Regions from separate parts of the Homo sapiens genome. Here region 1 is linked to region 2. Evidence: promoter capture Hi-C in 16 types of primary human blood cells and fetal thymus (Javierre and others, 2016). All regions are on one chromosome and are shown on one strand. Each heading gives the region's core, a stretch centred on a gene start or on the middle of the fragment in contact. The rest is flanking DNA. Distances are from core to core; before and after follow the strand shown. Region 1 holds the start of RPL6 (ribosomal protein L6). Region 2 overlaps TRAFD1 (TRAF-type zinc finger domain containing 1).

Region 1 (6,720 bases), core at 2,474-4,973, 280 kb after region 2:
CCTGGTGTCTGGGCTTCCGCAGCTTCTTCTTCTTGAAGTAAGCATCAGTAAGATGTTTTGGGATTTTTACATTGCTGATATCGATTTTGGTTGAAGTGGCAATGACAAATTTCTGGTGTGTTCTTCGTAGAGGAACTCGATTGAGGACCAGAGGTCCTAAGGGGGAAAAATTAATTTAGCAAGGAAAAGGGGGAAGAATCATCATCCTGCAATTTAGGTGACCATTACTTGTTATGTTGCTACACAAAGAAGACCACTTGTCTAACCCACTTGCACACAAGGCAATGAAATGGGCCTCAGACACTTGTGGCAATAAGTGTCTACCATGTAGGCAGTAGCAAACAAACGTGTATACTGCAAGCATTTAAAAATGGAAGTTTCACAGAACATCACAATCCAAGGATTTTCTTACCAGTCACAAGTAATAAGCCACTAGCCAGCTGCTTCAGGAAAACCACCCTCTGTAAGTTAAAAAGAAAATAATTAGTTTTCTGCAATTAAAAACTGACTTCTGAATTCATAAAATCACAGGCATCTAAATTTGGGTAAAGGAAATTTCTACATGTATATGTATACAGCTCGGCAGTTCTGGAAGCAACCACAGCAAGCTACTAAGGTAGTACTCCAGACATAAACACGTTTTTGAGTAAATGAACATGTGTAACATAATCAACAGCAGGAAATGGCTAATAAATCACCATGGATTACACTTCTTATTTGCAACAACTAAGTTGTATCTTGCAGATCATTTCCCCTTGCCCCAAACATAGGTAAATAAAGGAAAAGTACACCTAGCGTGCAAACGCATTGCCACCAGGCACCCCAGGCAGCTGCAGTGAAGCGCCCCAAGCACAGGTACTCTCACCTTGCCCCTGTGGCGTCCAGTGAGGATGATCAGAATGGTCCCGGGGGTAATGCTGGCTCGCAGTTTTCTCACGTGCTGACTGAAGGGTTTTTTGCCGTGGCTCAACAGCTTTCGAGGCACATCTTCAGTAGGATAATATCTAGGCTGTGGAGAGTCCATAGATCCAACTTATTTAAATAAGCCATTCAGATTACTAGAAGCAAGCTATGTCAGCCAAACTTTTGCTACAGCCTTTTTATTTTAAAGTATAATACTGTATTTATATGATTCCATTTTCATTTCTGCTAAGTAGACTTGGAAAAGGTCAATTATGCTTCTGCATCCTGTGTGCAAAAAAGGAGACACCATTTAATGAATGAGATGTGTGCTCAAGCAAAGAAAGCATCAAGCAAGTCACCTTTGCAATCTTGAGCAAAAACTAAACCTCAGAGATTACACGTGTGACATGCCACATTTTGCAGATTAGGGATACATGGCTTGTTTTCCAATTCAAGTAAAGTGTGTCCATATCCTAGCCACTTCATCTGATCCTCACAGCAACAAGTCTTACTCCCACTTCATCCACAAAGGAAAACAAATTGCATAAAGCCAGACACTAGGACTGGCAGATCATTTATTGCAGAAGTTAGACACCATGCAAGGGCCATTAAAGACATGACTACAAATAACTCACAATAACCTATTTCCAACTATACCATATCATTAGTGCAGTCTCACTTTCACCACAAACATGATCACCTAATGGGAAAACGAGTTCACAAAACAACTGTCATCTTCCCTCTCATGCAGTAATCTTCAACTGTGAAACTGTATGGTGTTAACTTATTTGGGAATGTTCCCATAATGAAAATTACAGAGCAAATCCTGAGATTACATTGGGTCTTGTGTGTGGTAAAGGGGGCCAAGAAACACTGCTCTAGTGGGAAATGTTCTATAGAACAGGCTATGTATTATTTCATTTAATCTCCATAAAAACTCTTTGAGGTAAACCCTCATTCCCATCTTATCTTTTTTTGAGATGAAGCCTCCCTCTGTCGCCCAGGCTGGAGTGCAGTAGTGCAATCTCTGCCTCCCGGGTTCAAGCGATTCTTCTGCCTCAGCCTCCAGAGCAGCTGGGACTACAGGCACGCAACCAGCTAATTTGTATATTTTTACTAGAGATGTGGTTTCACCATGTTGGCCAGGCTGGTCTTGAACTCCTGACCTCAGGTGATCTGCTCGCCTCAGCCTCCCAAAGTGCTGGGATTACAGGCATTAGCCACCACACTCAGCCTCATTCCCATATTATATGCAAAGGAACAAAGCACAGACGAGTAATTTAAATTACTTAAGATTAACAGTAAATGTTGAAGCCAAGTTACAAACCCAGAGCCCTTTATTTTCTATCAGAAATTCTCCGGTATGCAGAAACTTACAGTATCTAAGTATTCAAAAACATCTTCACAGTATTCAAGCATAAACAGAAAATCCAATTTACAGTCCCCACATCTTACCATTTTGCGAAGTTTAACCACCCGGGTACCGCCGTTCTTGTCACCACCAACTGGTTTTGTAACAGTTGCGAGAACCTTCTCCTTCTTTTTCTTTTCAACCTACAAGGACACAAATGCATCAACAGTAAGAGAATGCCAATTAAGGTTAAGACATAATGGTCCGTGGTCCTCTTCCCTTACCTTGGATTTAGCGGCTGAGTACTTCCTCTTGTACATGGCCTTTCTGGAATACATGGCAGATCGGGAATACCTGCCAATTCCTCTGACAAGGACAGGGTTGCGGCTGCAATGGGGCTTCCCCTTCTTGGGCTTTTTAGCTTTGAGGTTACCCTTTTTCACCTTGCCACCAGCATCAACCTTCTTGGCTTCGGGTTTCTTCTCTTTAGTATCTGGCTTCTCAACTTTTTCACCCGCCATCTAAAAATATTTTTTTGTAGATAAAAAAAGGCATTTCACCAGTCATCTCTCTAACAAGACAATAATGAACCTGTACATGAATGGGCTGGGCTCCCCAGACTACAATCCCTCCCCCGGTAAGATACAGGCCTTCCTCTCAAACTCTACCCATTCTACTCCAACCTTCACTATGACTCATTTGGGGTTTGTCTCCCCAATACACTATAAACTTTTTTTTTGAGAATTTGAAACTACCTCACACCTATTAGGTTTTTTGCCAAATACTGAGCGGTCAGAAGTCCGTACAACCATTATTTTTTATTACTGTTTTGCGAATTAGAAAACTTAGATGCAGAATGTGTCCACAGGTTAGAAGCACCAAGACCAGAACTTGAAATCCCTTACTTTCAGTACCTTTCGTCTTAACCCTTAAGACCAGTGTCTCTTTTCAAGAAACTCGATTTAGGAATTGCGGACACAAACGGAATCAGCCCAAATTGAGCCAGAGAAAAAGATCGCAAAGACCAAGAGGCGACTTCCGGTCGGGGACGCTGGGAGACGCGAAACCTTTTGGCTTCAGTGCGGAACCCCAACGTGGCTGCGACAGGCTCAGTGTCATCCTCTGGAACCCAGGACCAGGAACACAGTGCACGCGCCGTCTCCCCGCTTCCTCTAACACCCACCAGTCTGCTACGGGTCCCCGAAAGGGCCTCGTTCCCCCAGCCCAAGAGAGTGGCGAAGAACCGGAGGGAGCCACTACGGCATTCTACCTCACCCTCTTTGTGCCCTGCCGCAAACCCAAACAACAAAAATGAAGCGTCTGGAAGGCCTCTCAGTTAGCCTTGGACATGTCCGACCCCTGTAGGTGTCGACTGGATGCCCTCCAGGTTCGGATGGCGAAGGATTGGGAGTCCTGAACTCAAGTCTTGCAGACAGGCCCGCGATTCTTACCTTGCAAGATGGGAAAGAGAATTAAGGTCCCGGCTTCCGGTCTATAAGCAATCATGGGAAGTGCGAGTCTCACTTCCTTCCGGATCTGGGGCATCATGGGGAATGTAGTATTTCCCCGTTAAGAAAAAAGTAGTAAATCCTAGGCCGGGTGCGGTGGCTCACGCCTGTAATCCCAGCCCTTTGGGAGGCCGAGGCAGGAGGATCCTCTGAGGTTGGCAGTTCGAGACCAGCCTGGCCAACATGGTGAAATCCCGTCTCTACTAAAAATACAAAAGGTAGCCGGGCGTGGGTGGTGCGTGTCTGTAATGACAGCCAGTCGAGGCGCGGAGGCAGGAGAATCACTTGAATCTGGAGGTGGAGATTGCAGTGAGCCAAGATCGCGACACTGCGCTCTAGGCAACAGAGCAAGATTCTCAAAAAAGAAAAAAAAAAAAAAAAGGGCCGGACACGGTGGCTCACGCCTGTAATCCCAGCACTCCAAAGATCGTGCCACTGCGTGCCACCGCACTCCAGCCTGGGAAATAGAGCCAGACTCAGTCTCAAAACAATAACAACAACAAAAAAAAGAAAAAAAGAAAAAAAATTAGCCGAGTGTGGTTGTTAGTGCCTGTAGTCCCAGCTATTCGGGAGGCTAAGGCGGGAGGATCACTTGAGTCTTGGAGGTCTGGGCTGCAGTGCAGTGAACTCTAATCTTGTCACTTGAGATTAGGTCAGTGGTCCCCTCTTCCCTTACCTTGGATTTAGCGGCTGACTACTTCCTCTTGTACATGGCCTTTCTCATTCCCGTCCTCCGGCCTGGCCTACAGAATGAGACTCTGTCTTAAAAAAAGTAAAAAAAAATTAAAGTGAGGATAACAATAGTAACTTACTTCATAAGGATGTTGGGAACATTAAATAATATATACAACAGTACTGAGAAGCATATTTGATTATTTGATGGATGGTAAATGCTACATAAGTGTTAGCTCTTTTTTTTTTTTTTTTTTTTTTTTTTTTTTTTTTTTTGAGATGGAGTCTCGCTCTGTCACCCAGGCTGGAGTGTGGTGGCACGATCTTGGCTCACGGCAACCTCTGCCTCCTGGGTTCAAGTGATTCTCCTGCCTCAGCCTCCCAAGTAGCAGGGATTACAGGCGCACACCACCATGCCCAGCTAATTTTTTGTATTTTTAGTAGAGACAGAGTTTCACCATGATGGCCAAGCTGGTTTTGAACTCCTGACCTCAAGTAATCCACCCGCCTCAGCCTCCCAAAGTGCTAGGATTACAGGCGTGAGCCACCGCACCTGGCGAACTGTTAGCTCTTGTTATTGTCACCATCACCACTACAATCATCTGATCATCAACATCCTAGTTGTTGTCAAGTATTCTGCTAAAGTTTATGCATGGGAGATAATAGGCAATATTGCATACAATGTGCCTTGCTTTATTTCATTTAATTCTCCCAACAACCTGTGAATGATACTATTATGAGGAAACTGAGTCTCAAGGACATTAAGTAACTTGCTCACAGCATAGATCTGATTCCAAAGATTGCACTCTTAACCATTAGGCTGCAAGATTAAAGAGATGATTAATGAAGATGCATGAGAGTTTTGCTCATGTTAGAATTAAAAATAAGAATATTTATTATCTTTTACAAAATACACAACACAGTATATGTGATAGTTCTTTACTGCTTCAAAGCCCTTAAGCCAACATGTACACATTTGTAATACCTTCTAGCTTGCGTTTTCCATTTTCCTCCATTCGTTTCTTTCTGGTTGCTAGAGCTTTTCACCTTGATTTTTTCAGATCGAAACCACCTGCTTCATGGCTGTGTCTCTGGGAATCATTTAGCCTTTTTCTGGTTCTGATTCACTGAGGATACAAATACAATGATCAGATGAACACTGCCCTTTTTTTTGAGAATGGGAATGTCAGCAGCTTTATTTGTTTAGCTTCCTCAGCAAAGCACCTCTTAGAAACTTCAACTGCAGAAAATGTACCACAATGAATGAATGAGATGCACAGTTGCTTACGTGGGCCCCTCAAAATTGCTGGCAATCTCAGATAATTTCACCTAGTGAACGCCCCAAAATATGTGTTGAATGACCTGTCATTAAAATAAAAACGTAGATGAACCCCCTCTTGTGTTTTGTTGCGGTATTGCAAAATTTACAATTCATTAGTTGGGCAAAATACCATGTTAGTTATAAAGTAAATGTTTTTATTAAGTTTAGTTTTGCCATATATAAAATTCTCTGAAATTTGTGCAGCACTTTAATCACAAAGCAGACATTTTTGCAGACACTTAATCTTTTTTTTTTTTTTCTGAGATGGAGTCTTGCTCTGTCGCCCAGGCTGGAGTGCAGTGCCGTGATCTTGGCTCACTGCAACCTCTGCCTCCTGGGTTCAAGCCATTCTCCTGCCTCAGCCTCTTGAGTAGCTGGGATTACAGGTGCCCGCTACCACACCTGGCTAATTTTTTTTTTTGAAACAGAGTCTTGCTCTTTTGCCCAGGCTGGAGCGCGGTGGCATGATCTCGGCTCACTGCAACCTTCGCCTCCCGGGTTCACGCCATTCTCCTGCCTCAGCCTCCCGAGTAGCTGGGACTACAGGCGCCCGCCACCATGCCTGACTAATTTTTTGTATTTTTAGTAGAGGTGGGGTTTCACTGTGTTAGCCAGGATGGTCTCGATCTCCTGACCTCGTGATCTGCCCGCCTCGACCTCCCAAAGTGCTGGGATTACAGGCCTGAGCCACCTTGCCCGGCCAATTTTTTGTGTTTTTATTGGAGACAGGATTTCACCATGTTGGCCAGGCTGGTTTTGAACTCCTGACCTCAGGTGATCTGCTCACCTCGGCCTCCCAAAGTGCTGGGATTACAGGCGTGAGCCACCTCGCCCAGCCTAATTTTTTTTTTTTTTTGGAGACAGAGTCTCGCTCTGTCGCCCAGGCTGGAATGCAAGGTGAGATCATGGCTCACTGCAGCCTTGACCTCCTGGGTTCAAGCAATCCTCCCACCTCAGCCCCCTGA
Region 2 (6,285 bases), core at 396-2,895:
CATGAGCCCCTGTGCCTGACTTGTTGGTGAAATTTGAATGAATTCTATAGATTAGTTACTAGTATTGTATTAGTGTTAATTTCCTCTATTTGATAATTTTACTATTGTTATGATGCTTTTAGGGTAATTGGATGAAGTCTGTAAGGGATGTTATTTTATTTTTATTTATTTATTTATTTTTGAGACGGAGTCTTACTCTGTCGCTAGGGTGGAGTGCAGTGGCACGATCTTGGCTCACTGCAACTTCTGACTCCCTGGTTGAAGCGATTCTCCTGCCTCAGCCTCGCGAGTAGCTGGGATTACAGGCATGCGCCACCACACCCAGCTAATTTTTGTATTTTTAGTAGAGATGGGGGTTTCACCATGTTGGCTAGGATGGTCTCGATCTCCTGACCTTGTGATCTGCCTGCCTCGGCCTCCCTAAGTCCTGGGATTACAGGTGTGAGCCACTGCGCCTGGCCAGGATGTTATTATTATTATTATTTTTGAGACAGGGTCTCACTCTGTCACCCAGGCTGGAGTGCAGTGGCATGATCATGGCTCTCTGCAGCCTTAAACTCCTAGGCTTAAGCATTCCTCTTGCACATTCCTCCTGCCTCGGCCTCTCGAGTAGCTGGGACTACAGGCACACATCACCATGCCTGGGTAATTTTTTTTTTTTGTATTTTTTGTAGACATGACGTTACCCCATGTTGTGGCCAGGTTGGTCTTAAACTCCTGGGCTCAAGTGATCCGCCTGCCTCGGCCTCCCAAAGTACTGAGATTACAGGCATGAGCCACTGTACCCAGCCTAGTAAAAGTATTTTATTTTATTATTTTTATTTTTTAAAACTCCCTTATCCAATAAAATTATTTTAAATTGAAAATTTTAAAATAAGAAAATCCCAAGGGACTGGATATTGAATAAAATGCTTTAACATGCAGGTTTGGGTGACAGTTTCTGTATACTAGTTTTTTATTTGTTTTTTTGCATGTCATCTTTAAAGCAGAAATGAAAGAGAAAGTTCATGTCTTCCTTTGTGGTTTTCAGGAAGAGCTAAAGATGGCTGAATTTCTAGATGACCAGGAAACTCGACTGTGTGACAACTGGTAAGACATTAAATCTAAGAAATGTTAGTGGAATGAGGACAGTCAAGCTTAATCACTATCATTTCCTGATTTAAAAACTGTTAGTGAAGACTGGCACAGTCTTGAGTTAAGCTTTCTATTTTGGTGTTTATAACCCACATGAATTACAAGAAAGAGCATCTCTTTCCTGATGAAATGAAACCGGTTGTAAAGTTAATAATCAGCTGGTTCCTGTTGGGGTTTTCCTAAGAACTTATCTTGGTATCTTGGTGCTATACAAGTGCTGTTACTGTAAGCTGACAAAAAAAGCAAAGCAGAACTGTCTGCTATGTTTATTACTTTATTTTCCTTCACTGGGTACTTCTTTCACAATGTGCTATGTTTACCTTAGCAAACTGTGGTAGAAAGAGATGTGGAATAAGGAAAATAGTTTAACTCATTGGTGGAATATTTGAGCCAAATAACATTTTTGTCATCATCGTTGTCTTTTTCTTTCTTCTCAGCCTAACTTTGGCAGAATTAGAATATAATTAGAGCAACAGCTGGTTACAATATTCTTTACCTGCTTGGAATTAAGATTTCATCTCATTGTAGGTGTCTTGCCATATTGTAGAGTATTTCTGCTATGCCACTATCACTTTCTACCATTTCATAAACTATTTTAGTTTTGTTTGGGTTTTATATGTATAGCTACTGAAACAGAGTAATCAGAAACAAATAATCAAAAGAAAACATGATTTTGTAAGAAAAGAGACACATTGGTTTTTAGCATTAGTTAAGATACACCTATTTTATCAGTCCACTCCAATTAGGAGGAATCTCAAGCCTAGGACAAAATATAAATAACTATGCTAAGAGAGTTAAAGGGTGAGTTAATGGAAAGCTAGTGAAAAACAATGCTATTCAAAGCCAAAGAAATTAAAGAAAAAAGCAGATTAGCATAGAAGGCTGACTAAACCTGTAAAGAATTAATTTCTGGCTGTTTGTGTTTAGTGTTTGGAAAGTTCTTGGGAATTTTTCTGGAAGCTTTGGTTTGCCTTTCAGCTATTTCTATCTAAATGAAATTTCACCTCTAATTTGCTAGCCCTTCCTTGAGACTTTTAGCAGTTTTATCTGGATACGGAATTGTGTGCTCATTTATCTCACTTAAAACATCTTCATTTTCTCCGAAGGTAGGAAGTAAGCATATTAGTATTTGGTCTGGTTGGAATGTTTGGTAGGAATATGTTGGCAGTTAAATTTTAAAAGAAAAAAACCCAGCAGGCAACTGTTTTATATAATTGTTGCAAATATCTTTTTTATTTCAGCATTTCCTAAGAGGTGAATATGTGCAATAGTAAATGCTTTGTGGTCTTACTTGACAGCTGCTTTTGATTCTTGTTGCTTCATATTATGATGGTGTGGTCCTTAATATTTTTTGTTTTAATTCTAAAGTTTTAGGGGCCTTGTGTATGTAGTATGTCAACAAGTTATCCTGAACAGCCTTGTAAAGTAAATGCTAGACATTTAGTGTCTCCATATTTACCATTAAAATAAAAATTATTGCCAATATTATGAAAAAGGAACCCAGGTTTTCTACACCCTAAGCAGTAATTACTGGCTTTAATTTTCATGGCATTTGTACATACATGATTTACAATCACAATATAACATTTCTTCTTTCACTTTGTTGGTATACTATATGTAACTTAGCTATTCCTTTCTTGCTTAGGTATTTTTAATGACTTTCATTTTTTACCATTCTATGATACTGTAATGAAAATATTCATACATAATCCCAAGAGTAGGATTATTGTGTTACAGAGTATATAATTTTATGGTCCTAGAAATGAATTTTCAGACTGTTTTTAGGCAGTTTATACTACCACCAGTAATGTATTAAAGTATTCATTTCACAACATCTTTAAAAAGTTGGGATGTATTATTTTAACTAAATTAATTCAAAATGAGTAGTTTCCTTAGAAAGCTAAAAATTTGAGAGAAATATGGGAAGTTAAATCTGTCAGTAATTTTCCTCTTTATCCATTTGAGTTTTCTTCCCATCTCTCACAGTTGATTGTTCTGTCACCTTCCAGTGCTGCTTTGAGAGCTGCCTTGGGGTCCCTAGCTTGATAATTCCACCACTGGATGAAAATGAATTTGCACTTCCTTGGTGTCTTGGTCTTTCAGTTTGGAAGAATGACTATAGCTGGAGGCACATCATTTATCCTACTTCAAAATGTTTCTTAGACAATGTCTGAATATTAAAGGTTATTAAAAGAGAAATAAGCTATTTATAATTTAGTATGGGAGACAGTTCTTCTAGTATTCAGCTTCAGAGGCAAAATATGGTATTAAATAATGTGTTTTATGACTATCTGTATTGATCCTGTTCAGTATTTTATTTTTCTGAATTATTGTTATACGTACCTTCTTTAATGTAGTTTTTAGCTGGTGAAATTGGAATTTTACAATGGTCCTATCCAAATAAGTAAAAGTAAGGCCTTTGAATAGAATGTACCTTTAGTTCGAGTACATGTATAATCTTTTCATGTTTAAATGGTCTTACTCTTTCATGTAACATTATCACTTTACCTCCTTAATTTGTATAGCTTAGATATGATCTTTGAACCACTAAACTAAGTGAGAAAGGCAAAAATGAAGTGGAGAGACCAGACTGGTGGAGGAAAGGGTTCAGGATTTCATTTTTGTACAGCTTTACAGTGAAGTTTCTACCAACCCAGCCAGAGAGCATGTTCCTGTAGTCAGGAAGCATCCAGCCTGCTTCGAAAGGCATGTGAGGCATACAGGAGACAATTTCCCCTTCCCCTTTGACTGTCCAAAAGCTGGAGTCTTCTCTTTTTGGTTTGACTTTTCATGGAATAAAATCCAATGAAATTAAACTACTTAAAAGTGAGAGAAAATCAGTGGTAGGGTGTTTTTTCACTTGTTTTTGTTGTTGTTTTGGTTTGTTTTCTGTTTTAAAATAATCCTGGAGCGTATCACTCTGCTTTGGGACATGGATGGTTTTGGAATAGCCTAGCTCCACTCTTTTTGGCATCTGACTTCATGTTGTGATCAGCTCTGACTTTGAGAAAGTAAGGCTGAGCTTTTAGATGTAGTAGTGCATAGCACCGGTAACTCAGAATGTTGCACAGAAGAGCCTTCAGGATTTAGTTCTTTTTTTTTTTTTTTTTGATACGGAATCTTGCTATCCCCGAGGCTGGAGTGCAGTGGCATGATCTCAGCTTTCTGCAACCTCTGCCTCCCGGGTTCAAGTGATTCTCCTGCCTCAGCCTCCCGAGTAATTGGGATTACAGGTACCCGCCACCACACCTGGTTAATTTTTTATATTTTTGGTAGAAGCGGGGTTTCACCATGTTGGCTAGGCTGGTCTTGAACTCCTAACTTCAAGTGATCTGCTTGCCTCAGCCTCCCAATGTGCTGGCGTTACTGCACCTGGAAAGGATTTAATTTTTTTTTTTTTTTTTTTTTTTTTTGAGACAGAGTTTTGCTCTTGTTGCCCAGGCTGGAGTGCAATGGCACGATCTAGGCTCACTGCATCTTCCGCCTCCCGGGTTCAAGCGATTCTCCTGCCTCAGCCTCCTGAGTAGCTGAGATTACAGGCATGTGCCGCCACACCTGGCTAATTTTGTATTTTTAGTAGAGACGGGGTTTCACCATGTTGGCCAGGCTGATCTCGAACTCCTGACCTCAGGTGATCTGCCCGCCTCAGCCTCTCAAAGTGCTGGGATTACAGGCGTGAGCCACGGCGCCCGGCCAGTTTTTTTTTTTTTTTTTTATAGCAACCTCTGCCTCCTGGGTTCAAGCGATTCTCCTGCCTCAGCCTCCCGAGTAGCTGGGATTACAGGTGCCCGCCATCACGCCTGGCTAATTTTTATATTTTTAGTAGAGATGGGGTTTCACCATGTTGGCCAGGTTGGTCTCGAACGCCTGACCTCAGGTGATCCGCCTGCCTCGGCTTCCCAAAGTGCTGAGATTACAGGCATGAGCCACCGCGCCTGGCCAGGATTTAGTTCTTGAAAAGCAGGAATGGTAATAGTCATGAGTTTGTAGGCTAGGTATTCACTAAAGATAAATAATGGAGACTAAAGATTGGACAGGACAGATTTCCATGTGATGCCACTGTGCAAGAAAAGGCATAGATTAGTCAGTAATGCTTGCCTTTTTCTTTGGTCTATTTCCGTAGCAAAAAAGAAATTCCTGTGTTTAACTTTACCATCCATGAGATCCACTGTCAAAGGAACATTGGTATGTGTCCTACCTGTAAGGAACCATTTCCCAAATCTGACATGGAGACTCACATGGCTGCAGAACACTGTCAGGTGAGCCACCAAGTACTCAAATGTTTATACATGTGTTATACTTGCTGTTGTTCGTAAATGTATTCTGTTTGCTATTGTGCAATAGCAAATGAGCATATTGTCCCAAAGCCAATTTACTGATTCTCACTTCTTACTCTAGGTGACCTGCAAATGTAACAAGAAGTTGGAGAAGAGGCTGTTAAAGAAGCATGAGGTTAGTCCATGGAGTGAGTTACCGTGGGCCCAGTCCTGCTGAGATTACAGACCCACATGCAGAGCAGGAAGCCAGTCTGGTTGAGTGTTAGTTCTCCGTGAGCTCACATGCATACTGTTTCTCAAAGCCTGTTTGAGGCCTTGACTATGTAACTGCTGCCAGATTCGGCTACCTGGCTGTTGGAACTCACTTGTGTATGTTGAGACTCGCGAAGTATCTCCCTTTGGAACTGAGTCTATTATTTCTGTTGGGGTTTGGTTATTGGCAGCCTCACTGAATATGAAGCCAGCCCTAGAGTTGCCAGTATGGGATAACCTCTTTAGCACACAGCCTGCCTTACAAGCTGTCATTTCATTTAAAATTCTTTTTTGTTTGTTTGTTTTTTGAGACGGAGTCTTGTTCTGTTGCCCAGGCTGGAGTGCAGTGGTGTGATCTCGGCTTACTGCAACCTCTGCCTCCCAGGTTCAAGCAATTCTCCTGCCTCGGCCTCCTGAGTAGCTGGGATTATAGGCGCCCACCACCACTCCCAGCTAATTATTAGTAGAGACGGGATTTCACCATGTTGGCCTGACCTTGTGATCTGCCTGTCTTCAGCCTCCCAAAGTGCTGGGATTACAGGCGTGAGCCACCACATCTGGCTTCATTTTAAAATCTTGAACACCTGGATAACATGCTATTTAACCTAAGAAATTCCTCAGC

What was found. The method cuts DNA at HindIII sites, captures the fragments that hold promoters and counts their contacts. A CHiCAGO score of 5 or more calls a contact.
Region 1: the fragment with the promoter of RPL6 here is called in contact with a fragment that was not itself captured in region 2 in 3 of 17 cell types (erythroblasts, fetal thymus and naive CD4 T cells); the score reaches 9.0 in erythroblasts.

Annotation. Positions count from the first base shown.
Region 1 is chr12:112,405,882-112,412,601 of GRCh38, forward strand. RPL6 (ribosomal protein L6) reads right to left here and starts at 3,724. Exons shown (of 7, transcript NM_000970.6): 1 at 3,706-3,724; 2 at 2,539-2,775; 3 at 2,359-2,457; 4 at 866-1,009; 5 at 413-461; 6 at 1-156. The coding sequence starts at 2,775. RefSeq lists an enhancer at 3,355-3,534. The HindIII fragment of the contact is 30,731 bases long and covers 1-6,720 here.
Region 2 is chr12:112,129,481-112,135,765 of GRCh38, forward strand. TRAFD1 (TRAF-type zinc finger domain containing 1) reads left to right here. Exons shown (of 12, transcript NM_006700.3): 2 at 1,031-1,089; 3 at 5,258-5,393; 4 at 5,533-5,586. The coding sequence starts at 1,043. Among named protein-coding and RNA genes, the nearest start is that of TRAFD1, 7.1 kb to the left of the region's middle. RefSeq lists an enhancer at 1,234-1,283. The HindIII fragment of the contact is 894 bases long and covers 1,199-2,092 here.